Regions from separate parts of the Homo sapiens genome. Here region 2 is linked to region 1. The links are contacts of gene promoters, found by promoter capture Hi-C in human tissues and cell types (Jung and others, 2019). All regions are on one chromosome and are shown on one strand. Each heading gives the region's core, a stretch centred on a gene start or on the middle of the fragment in contact. The rest is flanking DNA. Distances are from core to core; before and after follow the strand shown. Region 1 holds the start of TRAPPC10 (trafficking protein particle complex subunit 10). Region 2 overlaps ADARB1 (adenosine deaminase RNA specific B1).

What was found. The method cuts DNA at HindIII sites, captures the fragments that hold promoters and counts their contacts. A contact is called where the count stands out against the background at its distance.
Region 2: a fragment that was not itself captured here is called in contact with the fragment with the promoter of TRAPPC10 in region 1 in 1 of the 25 tissues and cell types used here (dorsolateral prefrontal cortex).

Annotation. Positions count from the first base shown.
Region 1 is chr21:44,007,921-44,013,573 of GRCh38, reverse strand. TRAPPC10 (trafficking protein particle complex subunit 10) reads right to left here and starts at 1,265. Exons shown (of 23, transcript NM_003274.5): 1 at 1,014-1,265. The coding sequence starts at 1,080. RefSeq lists silencers at 441-1,110, 1,261-1,640. The HindIII fragment of the contact is 5,486 bases long and covers 1-2,572 here.
Region 2 is chr21:45,123,117-45,128,806 of GRCh38, reverse strand. It overlaps ADARB1 (adenosine deaminase RNA specific B1), which reads right to left. Exons shown (of 11, transcript NM_001112.4): 2 at 234-405. Among named protein-coding and RNA genes, the nearest start is that of ADARB1, 51 kb to the right of the region's middle. RefSeq lists an enhancer at 3,178-3,357. The HindIII fragment of the contact is 3,738 bases long and covers 1-3,663 here.

The DNA.
Region 1 (5,653 bases), core at 16-2,515:
GTGAGAGGGAAACAGGAGTTCTCACGACATACAGTCTACTGTGGCCTGGGCACCCAGATTTTGCAACAGAGAGTGCTTCCTTTCCAAGCACGAAAGACAACTAGAAAAAAACTAACTGCATACATGCATGAAAATACAGAATACTGTCAAAGGTCAAAAATCGTAACAGTCTGAAACACCTCTCTGCAAGTCACCTAAAAGCCAACCAACAAACATTTCAATACTTCCCATAAGCTCACTGTTCTTAACCGTATTTAACTCTGGAGAGTCACACTTCTAAAATTTAGGGAACATTTTTCCCGTAACAGAAAAACAGTTCCTTTGTGTATGCATTAAAGGAGGGGTGCGGGGAGGACACGACACCCAAGAGGCACCAGGTGTCCGTAGTGTAGACTCGAGCGGGAGGCTGTTCATGGGGAGCAAGCTCGCCTAAGCGCCCGAGCCTCGGCTTTCTCATCCGTAAAATGGTTTGAGTGCGCGGCGGGGAAGTGTGTAGGAGCGAAAGCAGTCCCGGCGGCTCTGCCTGACGCTTCACCCCGCAACAAACTGTTCCTACTTCGCCAACGCCTGCAACTCTGCGAGCCCCCAAGGACTTCCCCGTAGTCGGGGAAAGGGCGCCCGCGGGCAAAACCGCCCGGCGGAAGAGGCCGGGGCCCCCAGGTCCCGGGCGCGCGGCTCAACGGGGGCGGGACGGGGCGGTGGCAGCCCCCGCTCCTCGCCCTCGACGCCGGCGCGCGCCCAGTCCCGGGCAGAGTCCGCCGGGTTCCACCGGCTCCAACTGCAGCCGGCCCGAGGGCGCCCCCCAGGGGTCAGAGGTCGCCCGGCGGGAAGGTCAGAGGGCGTCCCCGAAAAGTCAGAGGGCCCCGCCTCAGCCGCAGCCCTGGTCACACCTCCAGGAAGCGGCCCAGCCCGGAGCGCGCCGGGGGCTGAAGGTCTGGGGGCGCCGGGTGCATAACGCCAGGGCCCGGGCCCGCCCAACGACCGCCGCGCCCTCCCCGCCTCCGGGCACTCACAGGTGACGATGGGCTTGTTCTCCATGGTGTAGATCACCGGCGGCAGCGGCTCCTCAGAGGCGTCCATGGGCGTCCGGCGTCACCGGCCCGGCCCCCCGCGCCCCATGGGCAGCCCCGAGGCCGCGCCGGGCCCAGCCGGAGCCCGAGCCTGAGCGGCGCCGCCCGCCCGGCCGCGCCAGGCAGCTCCGGAGCCGGTTGCGCCGCAGCTGCCGCCCGCTGCTGCCGGCCTCAGCCACTTCCGGCCTCGGCGCCGCCGCATGACCATTTCCGGGGCGCGCGAGGCTTCACGGGGCGGGTCTTCGCCGCGCTTCGCCTCCGACGGAAGTGCGCCCGGGCCGGCCGCGCGGGACCGGGAGGTGGGAAGTGGGAGGCGGAGCGGGGCTCCCGGGACACGTCCATCTTCCTCCCTCGGCAGTGGGCGCCCCGCTGGGCCCTGCGCCGGAGCTGAGGCCAGGACTCGGCAGGCGGGCCTCGCGCGCGGTGAGCGAGCCTGGACGCTCCCGGACCAGAGACGCCGGCCTCGCTGCCCTCGCGTTCCCCGCAGCTCGGGCGTCCCGCGGCGGGCCGCTGCTCCCCGGCCGGGCTCCTTATCGCGCTGGGGGCTCCCGCAGGCCCTCGCCGCTGAGTGTCCCCGGCGCGTGCCTTCCGCCTACCGCTGGGCTCTTCCCGTTTCCCTCACGCCGCAAATGTTTTTGTGGGGACCTGGCCCTCGGCATTTCGGAATGCCACAAAATAAACCTCACACTTAACTGCATATGGGCTTCTTGTGCACGTAAACGGGGGGGGCGGGGCGCGGGTGTTTCTTTTTCTTTTTTTCTTTGGAGCAGGGTCTTCCTCAGTTGGCTCAGGCTGGAGTGCAGTGGCGGGACACGGCTCACTGCAGCCTCCACCTTCCAGGCTCAAGCGATCCTCCCGCCTTGTTTCCCCCCGCCCCACCCCCTCCGCCAGTAACTGGGACCACGGGGGCAGCCACCACGCCCAGCTAATTTTTTTCTTTTCTTTTCTTTTGTCGGGATCTCACTATGTTTTCCAGGCTGGTTTCAAACTCCTGGGCTCAAGTGATCCTCCAGCCTTGGCCTCCCAAAGTGTTGAGATTACAGGTGTGAGCCATCACTCCCAGCCATAAAATGACAAAAACTGTCAACCAAAAATAATCAAAAGGGTCAGAATCTAGAGTTTAGTCAAATGCGAAGCTTGAGGCGCCCAGGAAACATTATAAAGAATGGAAGTCAGTGTTCTCAAACGTAGAAATTTGGGGTCGTTTCTATAGCCAGCGTCTCGGGAAGCCTAACCGAATTTCAGCGTCTTTTCTGTATAAGGCCTAATGCATAGTTACAACAGTCTGTTTAGTCGAGGTGGTCTTTTTCTTTGGGGACCCACTGAAGATGAAACAGTCCTGGGGTCTCTGTGCTGTCTGGTCTAAGTCAGGTACAGGACAATGGAGACAGCTAATCTGTAACAAAAATCACCAAATGGGAAGGGGGAGACCTGGTCTTTCTTAGTCATTAACAGCAGCAGTCCCCAACCTTTTTGGCACCAGGGACCAGTTTCATAGAATGCAGTTTTTCCACAGACAAAGTTGGGGTGGTTTCAGGACGATTCAAACACATTTCATTTATTGTGCACTTTATTATTTTTATGTTGTAATATGTAATAAAATACAACTTCCCATAATGTGGAATCAGTGGGAGCCCTGAGCTTGTTTTCCTGCAACTGGACGGTCACATCTAGGGATGATGGAAGCCAGGGACACATCATTAGGGATGAGATTCTCATAAGGAGCACGCAACCTAGACCCCTCCAATGTGCAGTTCACAACAGGGTTCACCCTCCTAGGAGAATCCAGCGCTGCTGCTGACCTGACAGGAGGCGGAGCTCAGGCGGTAATGCCAGCGATGGGGAGCAGCTGTAAATACAGATGAAGCTTTGCTCCCTGGCCTGAAGCTCACCTCCTGCTGTGTGGCCTGACCGGTATGTGTCTGTGGCCCTGGCGGTCGGGGAGCCCTGATTTACAGAGCAGCCACAATGAGGAAGACACTTGTGCTCAAGAACAAGGAGGAAGAGCATTAAACTGTAATCGAAGAAGCAGAATTGCAAACTTGCTACTGACTCAGTCTCCAGGGCTTAACTTCACCCTTGGCATCATAAGTTTAGAGAGTCCTGAAGTTTTTTTTAACAAAATGTATATATGAGATAGTTTGGGTGTGAACACAGCTGCTAAATGTGTGAACATAGTGTAGTGTGGTGCACTGTAATGGTGTGAGAGGCAAGAGACCAGACTTCTGGGCAGCTAAAGCAGCAGGCCGGCAAGGCAGGGCACTGGAGGGGAAGAAGCTTAGCAAGAGTGGGGAGCCGAAGTCGATGTAGGGTTCCCTGAAAGTCCTTGGCCTAGGCTGGACTACACGTGTGGGACGACTCTATGGGTTTACCAGGAAGCGGCTGTTACAGAGTTGAGGATGGCACAAAGACTAGAGGTCCAGTAGTGCTACAGGAAAGGACTTTCCGTTTTGTTTTCTTTTCAGACAGTCTTGTTCTGTCACCTAGGCTGGGGTGCAGTGGTTTGATCGTTATCTCAGTGCAGCCTAGAACTTCTGGGCTCAAGTGATCCTCCCACCTCAGCCTCCCAAGTAGTTGGGACCACAGGTGAGTGCCACCACGCCCGGCTAATTTTTTCTTTTTTTGTAGAGAGAGGGTCCCACTCTGTTGCCCAGGCTGGTCTTGAACTCCTGGCCTCAAGCAGTCCTCCTGCCTAATCCTCCCAAAGTGCTGGGATGACGAGTACGAGCCACCGTGCCCAGTCAAGACCTTTTTAATGCCATTAACACTGAGGACATTGAGCTGAGACACTAGATTGAGAATCACATTCCCAGGGGTCAGCAAACGACCTATAAAGGGCCCAGATAAGTATTTTAGGTTGTGTGGGCCACATGCAGTTTTTGTTTCATATTTTTGCTTGTTTTTTTTTTTTTTTTAAACAACTCTTTAAAAATATAAAAGCCATTCCTGGCTTTAAGTGCTGTACAAAAACAGGCCATCAACACATGTGGCTTGTGAGCCAGAGGTTGCCAGTCCCTCCCCTAGAATAAGGACTACTCCAGGCCCGCCTTAACAACGTCTAAAGCAAAACCCTGACCCGATCCACAAGACGGTCAGAGTTTGGAGGTTAAGTCCTGCCAAGTAAGAGGGGCCTGGGAGACACCTGGGACATTGCTCAGTAAACAGAGCCTAAAGCTAAGCCTACACAGCCCAGCATGGTACGTCCAGTAATGGAACTACAAACTAGAACGAAAGTCAGGATTTTTCAGTGGAAGAGCACCCTGAGTCTCCCTCATTTGTTATTTATCAGTGTTGAATATACACTAAAAAAACAAAAATCACTAAACATACAAAGAAAGAGGAAAACGTAAGCCATAGTTAAGAAAAAAAAAAAGCAGTTAACAGAAACCAATCCCCCTACAATGAACCAGATTCTGTATTTACAAAGATTCTAAAGCAGCTCTACATATGTCCAAAGGAGGCTGGGCACGGTGGCTCACACCTGTAATCCCAGAAATTTGGGAGGCCGAGGTGGGCAGATCACTTGAGCCCAGGAGTTTGAGATCAGCCTGGCCAACATGGTGAAACCCCATCTCTACTAAAAACACAAAAATTAGCTGGGTGTGGTGGCGCACGCCTGTAGCCCCAGCTACTCGGAAAGCTGAAGCAGGAGAATCGCTTGAATCCGGGAGGTGGAGGTTACAGTGAGCCAAGATAGTGCCACTGCACTCCAGCCTGGGTGACAGAGCAAGACTCCATCTCAAAATAAATAAAAATAATATGTCCAAAGGATTAAATGAAAATATTGTCTTAATGAGTAAAGAATCAGAAATTCACAGCAGAATAACAAAGTATCTAAAAGAATCAAAAGAAAAGTCTAGAACTGAAAAGTACAATAACAGAAATGAAAATTTCACTGAATTGGATTAACAGATTGGAGAAAACAGGAGTTTGGGATCTTGAAGGCAGATGGATAGAAATTATTTAATCTGAAGAAGAGAAAAAAGTTGAAGAAAAGTGGAGAGAACCTCAGAGACCTATGGGACAGTATGAAATGGCCAAAAGCATGTGTGATCGGAGCTCCAGAAGGAGAGTATGAGTCTAGGAAGGAAACATTTTTGCAAAATGATGGCTCCAAATCCAAACACGTGGTGAAAAATACTGATTTACAGATCAAGAAATTCAGCAAAACCTGAAGAGAACACATACAAAGAAAATTACATGCAGGCATATCATACTCAAACTGGTGAAATAGATCAAGAGAAAAAAAATGTTTTGGTGGGGGGACAGGGTCTTGCTCTGTCGCCCAGGCTGGCGTGCAGGGGCACAGTCACGGCTCACTGTAGCCTCAGTCTTCTGGCTTCAAGCCATCCTCCCACTACAGCCTCCCAAGTAGCTGGGACCACAGGCACGTACCACCATGCCAGCTAATTTTTTAATTTTTTGTAGAGACGGCAGGGGGTCTTCCCCAGGCTGGCCTTGAACTCCTGACCTTAGGTGATCTGCCCACCTTGGCCTCCCAAAGTGCTGGGTTACAGGCATAAGCCACTGCACCCGGCCCTTCTCATAATTTCTTTAAGAGACCACTGACTGTTTAAAACAAA
Region 2 (5,690 bases), core at 545-3,044, 1.1 Mb before region 1:
TGCCACTGGAGGGCAGCAGGCACCACCCCAGAACAAGCAGGAGGGACTCATGGGTGAGCTAAGGCTGCAGTAAGATTAGAAATCAACCAACAGTAACAGATCATCTGTGCCGGGAAGTATTCAATAAAGCATCTTTCAAAGGCAAGCCAAAAGGCTTAATTAAGCGGTTTATATCAAGAAAAAGGCATTTCTACCAGTCAGATTTGATCAGATCTTTACAGGTTTTTACTCACCTTGAAATTTTTCTAGCTTTATGTCTGCTCTGATCCCAAGGCAGCTTCCTTCGGTGCGAGCGGACTGAGAGAGTATCTCAGCAGGACTGAAGTAAGCAGAACTCCGCGCTTGGCCAGTGTGTCTCCTTCAGTTGCCCCTTAAGCTCTCCATGCCAGCCTGAAAGGCTCCACTCTGTGTAACAGAGAGATTCGGTAACTTCACACTTGTTTGATTCAGTATCAAAAGCTTTGTCACCATTTCAGAAGTGAACTCTATAACAATAAATACTCTCCATGAAAAGTCTTCTAAATACAAATTTAAGTTATTTTAAATGTACTCTTCCGAATCTGTAAAGGGGATATGCGCAATCCATCACGTCTCCGTCCGTCTGCCTGCAGCAGGTAGAGGCACCTGTGACAGACGGAGGCAGATCGCTGCCAGCCCAACATCTCGGCATCAGCGGCACCAGGCCACACACTGAGGACTGGAGTCTCAGGCAGAATCTCACACGTACTCATCTTTTTTACAATTCAATATGCACACACCCCTACACATGCACACATGTGAATGTGAGTCCAGATACAGAGACGCACCATCCCTGCACGTGCTCTGCCCGGGTTTGGAAGCTACAGGCCACCTCTGCTTCTGAAGCAGAGGTTGTGAAACAGTATCTCCATCTAGTTTCTGCTCTGTGTGAAAGCGTTTTCAACCAGCAAGCCATTAGAGAAAATGTTTCAACATGCTAATATAATTATAAAACCTCAATATGGAGTATTAAAATTTTCTTCCTGAAAAGCAAACTGATATCCAAAAGAAGGGGAAGTCTGCAATGGGTTTCTCCATTGCAGAGTTCCAAAGAGAAGTCTCTGGGAGGTGTGTCCAGGGGTGAGCGGGTTTCTGAGTGGGAACCTGGAGGAAGGAGGTGAAGTGTGGGATAAGGTGCGCGTGAAAGTGGCTCGACTCTCGCTATGCAGACTTGGCCAGGCCATCACAATGCGTTCCTGCTGCCCCGGTCGCTGCTGCAGTCCTCAGAGGAGATTGGAGGCTACCTTCCAAACCTCCCACCTGTGACCAGCTGACATTCATCTACAACACACGTCAGCTCGTCTGCTGGGACAGACCTAAGACACAGAGACAAGCTCACCTGTGTCCTGCACTAGCACCATCAAGTCAAATGGGCTGTCACTGAAAATGCTCTATCAGCCTGGAATTACAGGTCACAGAGTCATCTTGTCCAGCACAGAGAATGAGGGCCACATGTCCAGAACTGTCCCCACTATCAATGACCCCCATCATCCCCACACCAGATTCAAGCTCCCAAATCACCCTCCCCAGCGGTCCCAATCACCACGCCTGGGTGGAGAGTGTCAAGAAGTGCAAGGACGTTGGCCTCTGACCTTCAGCGTTGCCTCCACTCAGTCCGAATCCAGCTCCACCACAGCCCCTCCCCAGTGGGCAGAGAGCAAGGGCCCCGAGTGAGCATGAGCTGAACAAGCTTCTCTGGAGATGGCACCTAGCCCCTCCCTCAATCCAAAGAGCCACAAAGAAGTAAAATCCATTCTAGAAGCTTTACACACCAAAAAGTCCACCGCCTAAACAGAGAAAGAAAAACACAGCAGAAAGGACATGAAACCAAGATTTACAGAACTGGGTTCTAGTGCCCACATCATGTCCCACCAACTCTGCAAGCCTGGCCAAGAAATCTGACCTCCCTGGGCCGTCTGCAGGATGGGAAACTGCATGGGAAGCCCAGCCACTTTGAGGAGGGAGCAGGTGATATGCAGAGTGGGTTTTGGAAGCTGCAAAGTCTAAACATCAAGTGTGAGAATGGTTGCCTCCCATTTGAGTACACTCATACCAACTGAGGTAAAACTGCCATACTTGCCAGGAGTATTGCAAGGGGTTTCAGGAAAAGCATGGCTTCCAGGAAAGAGGGGTCCAGGCCACCACCCTAGACCTCAGCCTTGCAGTCGTGTGACTTGAACAGTGACTCAGCCCCTTCCAGGCTTGCTCCTATGAGGACAGGACGAGGACACAAGGAACACCCGCCGCAGATGGTGCCGTGAGGATTAAATGGAGGAACAGATGTAGAGTGCTTGGCCCCGTGACTAAGATCACAGTAGGGGCGCAATAAAAGATGGTCAAAAACACCGGAGTCTTTTTGTCATGGAGGGAGTGGAGAGGAGCAGGTGACAGAGACAGCAGACAGCGGCTGAAAAAACAAAACAGTGGAGAGATGGAAGATCTGCACAACACAATTAACAAGCTGCATGGTGGTCACATGCAAGACGCTGCTCCTAACAGTGCATCACACATCAGCTCCTCAAGGACACATGAGCCACTTCTAAAAATAGACCATATCCCAGCCGTAAAGAAAATCTCAACATATTTCAGGTGGCTGAAATCAGACAGAGCTCATCCTCTGATCGTAATACCATGAGCCTAGAAATTAACAAGCCAAGTATAACTAGAAAGTCCCATATGTCTGAGAGTTCAGCAATACACTTCTAAATAATCCATAGACAAAAGAAAATAATCACAGGAGAAAACAGAAAACACTTAGAACTTAAAACTAGAAAAGATTATGTACAGAATTGTGTGGCACACAGATAAAGCAGTACATCAGAGGGACCTTTATAGCTCGGTGCTCAAGCTAGAATAGGAGTAAAAAAATTAAAGAGTGCCTACCTGAACAAGTCAGGGAGAGAAGAACAAAGTAAGCTCAAAGAAAACAGAAAAAGGGAACTAGTAAGAAATTCAACCTGTATTAATTACATATAACGGCAGGTACACAAAGATAAACATTGGTTCTTTGAAAAGACAATGCAGTGAACCAGTGATCTCTGGCAAGACTCATGGAAACACAGAAAGGGAACACAAGAGAAAAAGCCCAAATTAACCAGCCTTGGAATTGAATTGGAGGGCAGGAAGGCCTGATGGCCACAATGTGACTCTCCTGTCCTTGTGTGGGAAGATCTTACTTCCCCCAATGAGTCCCAGCAGGCGGGTGACTGCTCTGGCCCATTGAACGCAGCAGGCGTGGTACTGCCAGGTCCAGACCAGCACCTGAAGAGGAAGCCAGATTCCACCTCCTATTTCTGGGAACACTGTCTCTGGGGAGCCAACTCAGATGCTCTGAAGAGATCACAGGGGCTACATGCAGAGAAGGATGTCTAGTCAGCCCCAGGCGGGAGCCAGCCACCTCACTGAAGAAGCCTTCTCATACAGGACACTGAGAAGAACCAAGAAAGCCACAGCTGACAGCCAGAAGCAGAGCTCCAGACACTCAGGCTACCTGGCTGAGCATTAATAAAGTGATTGTTGTTTATGTCACTAAGTTGGGAATGGGTCATCAGGCGGCAAGAGAAACCAAAATGGAATTATCACTTAAACTCTGACAACACTAAAAATATAGTAAGAGGCTTTATAAACTTTATTCCAAAAAGCTTGTAAGCTTAGGTTAAATGAAGAAACTCCAAGAGAAATACAACTTATTAGGCTGGGTGCGGTAGCTCACGTCTGTCATCCCAGCACTCTGGGAGGCTGAGGCAGGTGGATCACTTGAGCCCAGGAGTTCAAGACAAGCCTGAGCAACATAGCAAAACCATCTGTACTAAAAATACAAAAATTAGCCAGGCGTAGTAACACACGCCTGTCATCCCAGCTACTTCGGAGGCTGAGGTGTGAGAAATCACCTGAGCCTGAATGGTCGAGGCTGCAGTGAGCTGAGATTGCACCACTGCACTCCGGCCTAGGCAACCAGAGTGAGACCCTGTCACACACACACACACACACACACACACACATACACACACACACACACACACCATTTAAAAAGAAAAGAAATACAACTTATTAACACTAACTCAGGAGGAAACAGAAAATCTGACAAAACTACAAACATTAAAGAATTAGAAGCCAGATGCAGTAGCTCATGCATGGAATCCCAGCACTTTGGGAGGCCGAGGCAGGCAGACTGCTTGAGCCCAGGAATTCAAGATCAGTCCTGGCAACATAGTGAGACCTTGTCTCTACAAAAAAAATAAAGAAAATTAGCCAGGTGTGGTGGCGTGCACCTGTAGTCACAGCTACTCAGAAGGCTGAGGCAGGAGGATCGTCTGAGCCCAGGAGGCAGAGGCTGCAGTGAGCCGAAATTGCACCATCACACTCTAGAGCCTGGGAGACAGAGTGAGACCTTGTCTCAAGAAAAAGAAAAGAGAAGAAAAGGGAAGGAAGGAAGGAATGCAGGGAGGGAGGGATGGATTATAGTCAGTAAACAAAAATCATCCTGGAAAGAACACTCCATGACTAGATGGCTTCTCTAGAAAGTGAATCCAACATTCAACAAGACACTTCTGTGAAGATGAAAAGGAAGCAGTAAGTCAATCTTACAAATACAGTGTAAACATCGTATACAAAATGTGATCACACTCAATCCAATAATATTTTTTAAAGCGATCAAACATGATTAAGATGAATTTATGATGGGAATGCAAACATGATTTAATGTATGAAAATCGATTTATGTAATCCACTTCATTAATAAATCAAGAGAAACACAAAAGAATATACTGATGACTCCCCTTGGATAAAGTTCCATCACAGGCAAAACTGAACTACATTGATTGGGGATGCATTCTTACATGGTAAAATTAAAAAGAAAAGGACAGTATTATTTCAAAATATAGGATATTACCAAACACAGTGGCTCACACTTATAAGCCCAGCACTCTGGGAGACCAAGGCAGGAGGATCACGTGAGGCCAGGAGTTCAAGATCAGCCTAGGCAACACATGGAAACCCCATCTCTACAAAAAATTAAAAACTCAGCGAGGCATGCTGGTGTGCACCTGTGGTGTCAGCTGCTCAGCAGGCTAAGGCGGGAGGACTGTTTGAACCTGGGAGTTCAAGGCTGCAGTGAGCCATAATCCTGCCACTGCACTCCAGCCTGAGTGACAGAGTGAGACACTGTCTCAAAAACAAACAAAAAGGCCAGCACGATGGCTCACACCTGTAAGCCCAGCACTTTGGGAGACAGAGGCGGAAGGATCGCTTGAGCCCAAGAGTTCAAGAACAGCCTGGGCAACACAGGGAGACACCATCTCTATAAAAAGTAAACAAAATTAGCCAGGAGTGGTGGCTCATGTCTGTAATCCCAACTGCTCTGGAAGCTGCAGTGGGAGGATCACCTATGCCTAGGAAGTTGAGACTGCAGAGAACTGTGATCACACCACTGCATTCTGGCCTGGGCCACAGAGCAAAACATTGTCTCAAAATAATAATAATTATAATTAATTATACACACACACACACACACACGTAGTATATATTAGATGTGTCATATGGATGAGGGGGAGTTATCATCAGGGAGGAGCATGAAGGAAACTGTGAGGTACACAGTGTCTATTTAACCTGGGTGAGAGTTACATGGACATGCAATTAAAATTATTCTCTTATATATGTGTCCATGTTCAAGA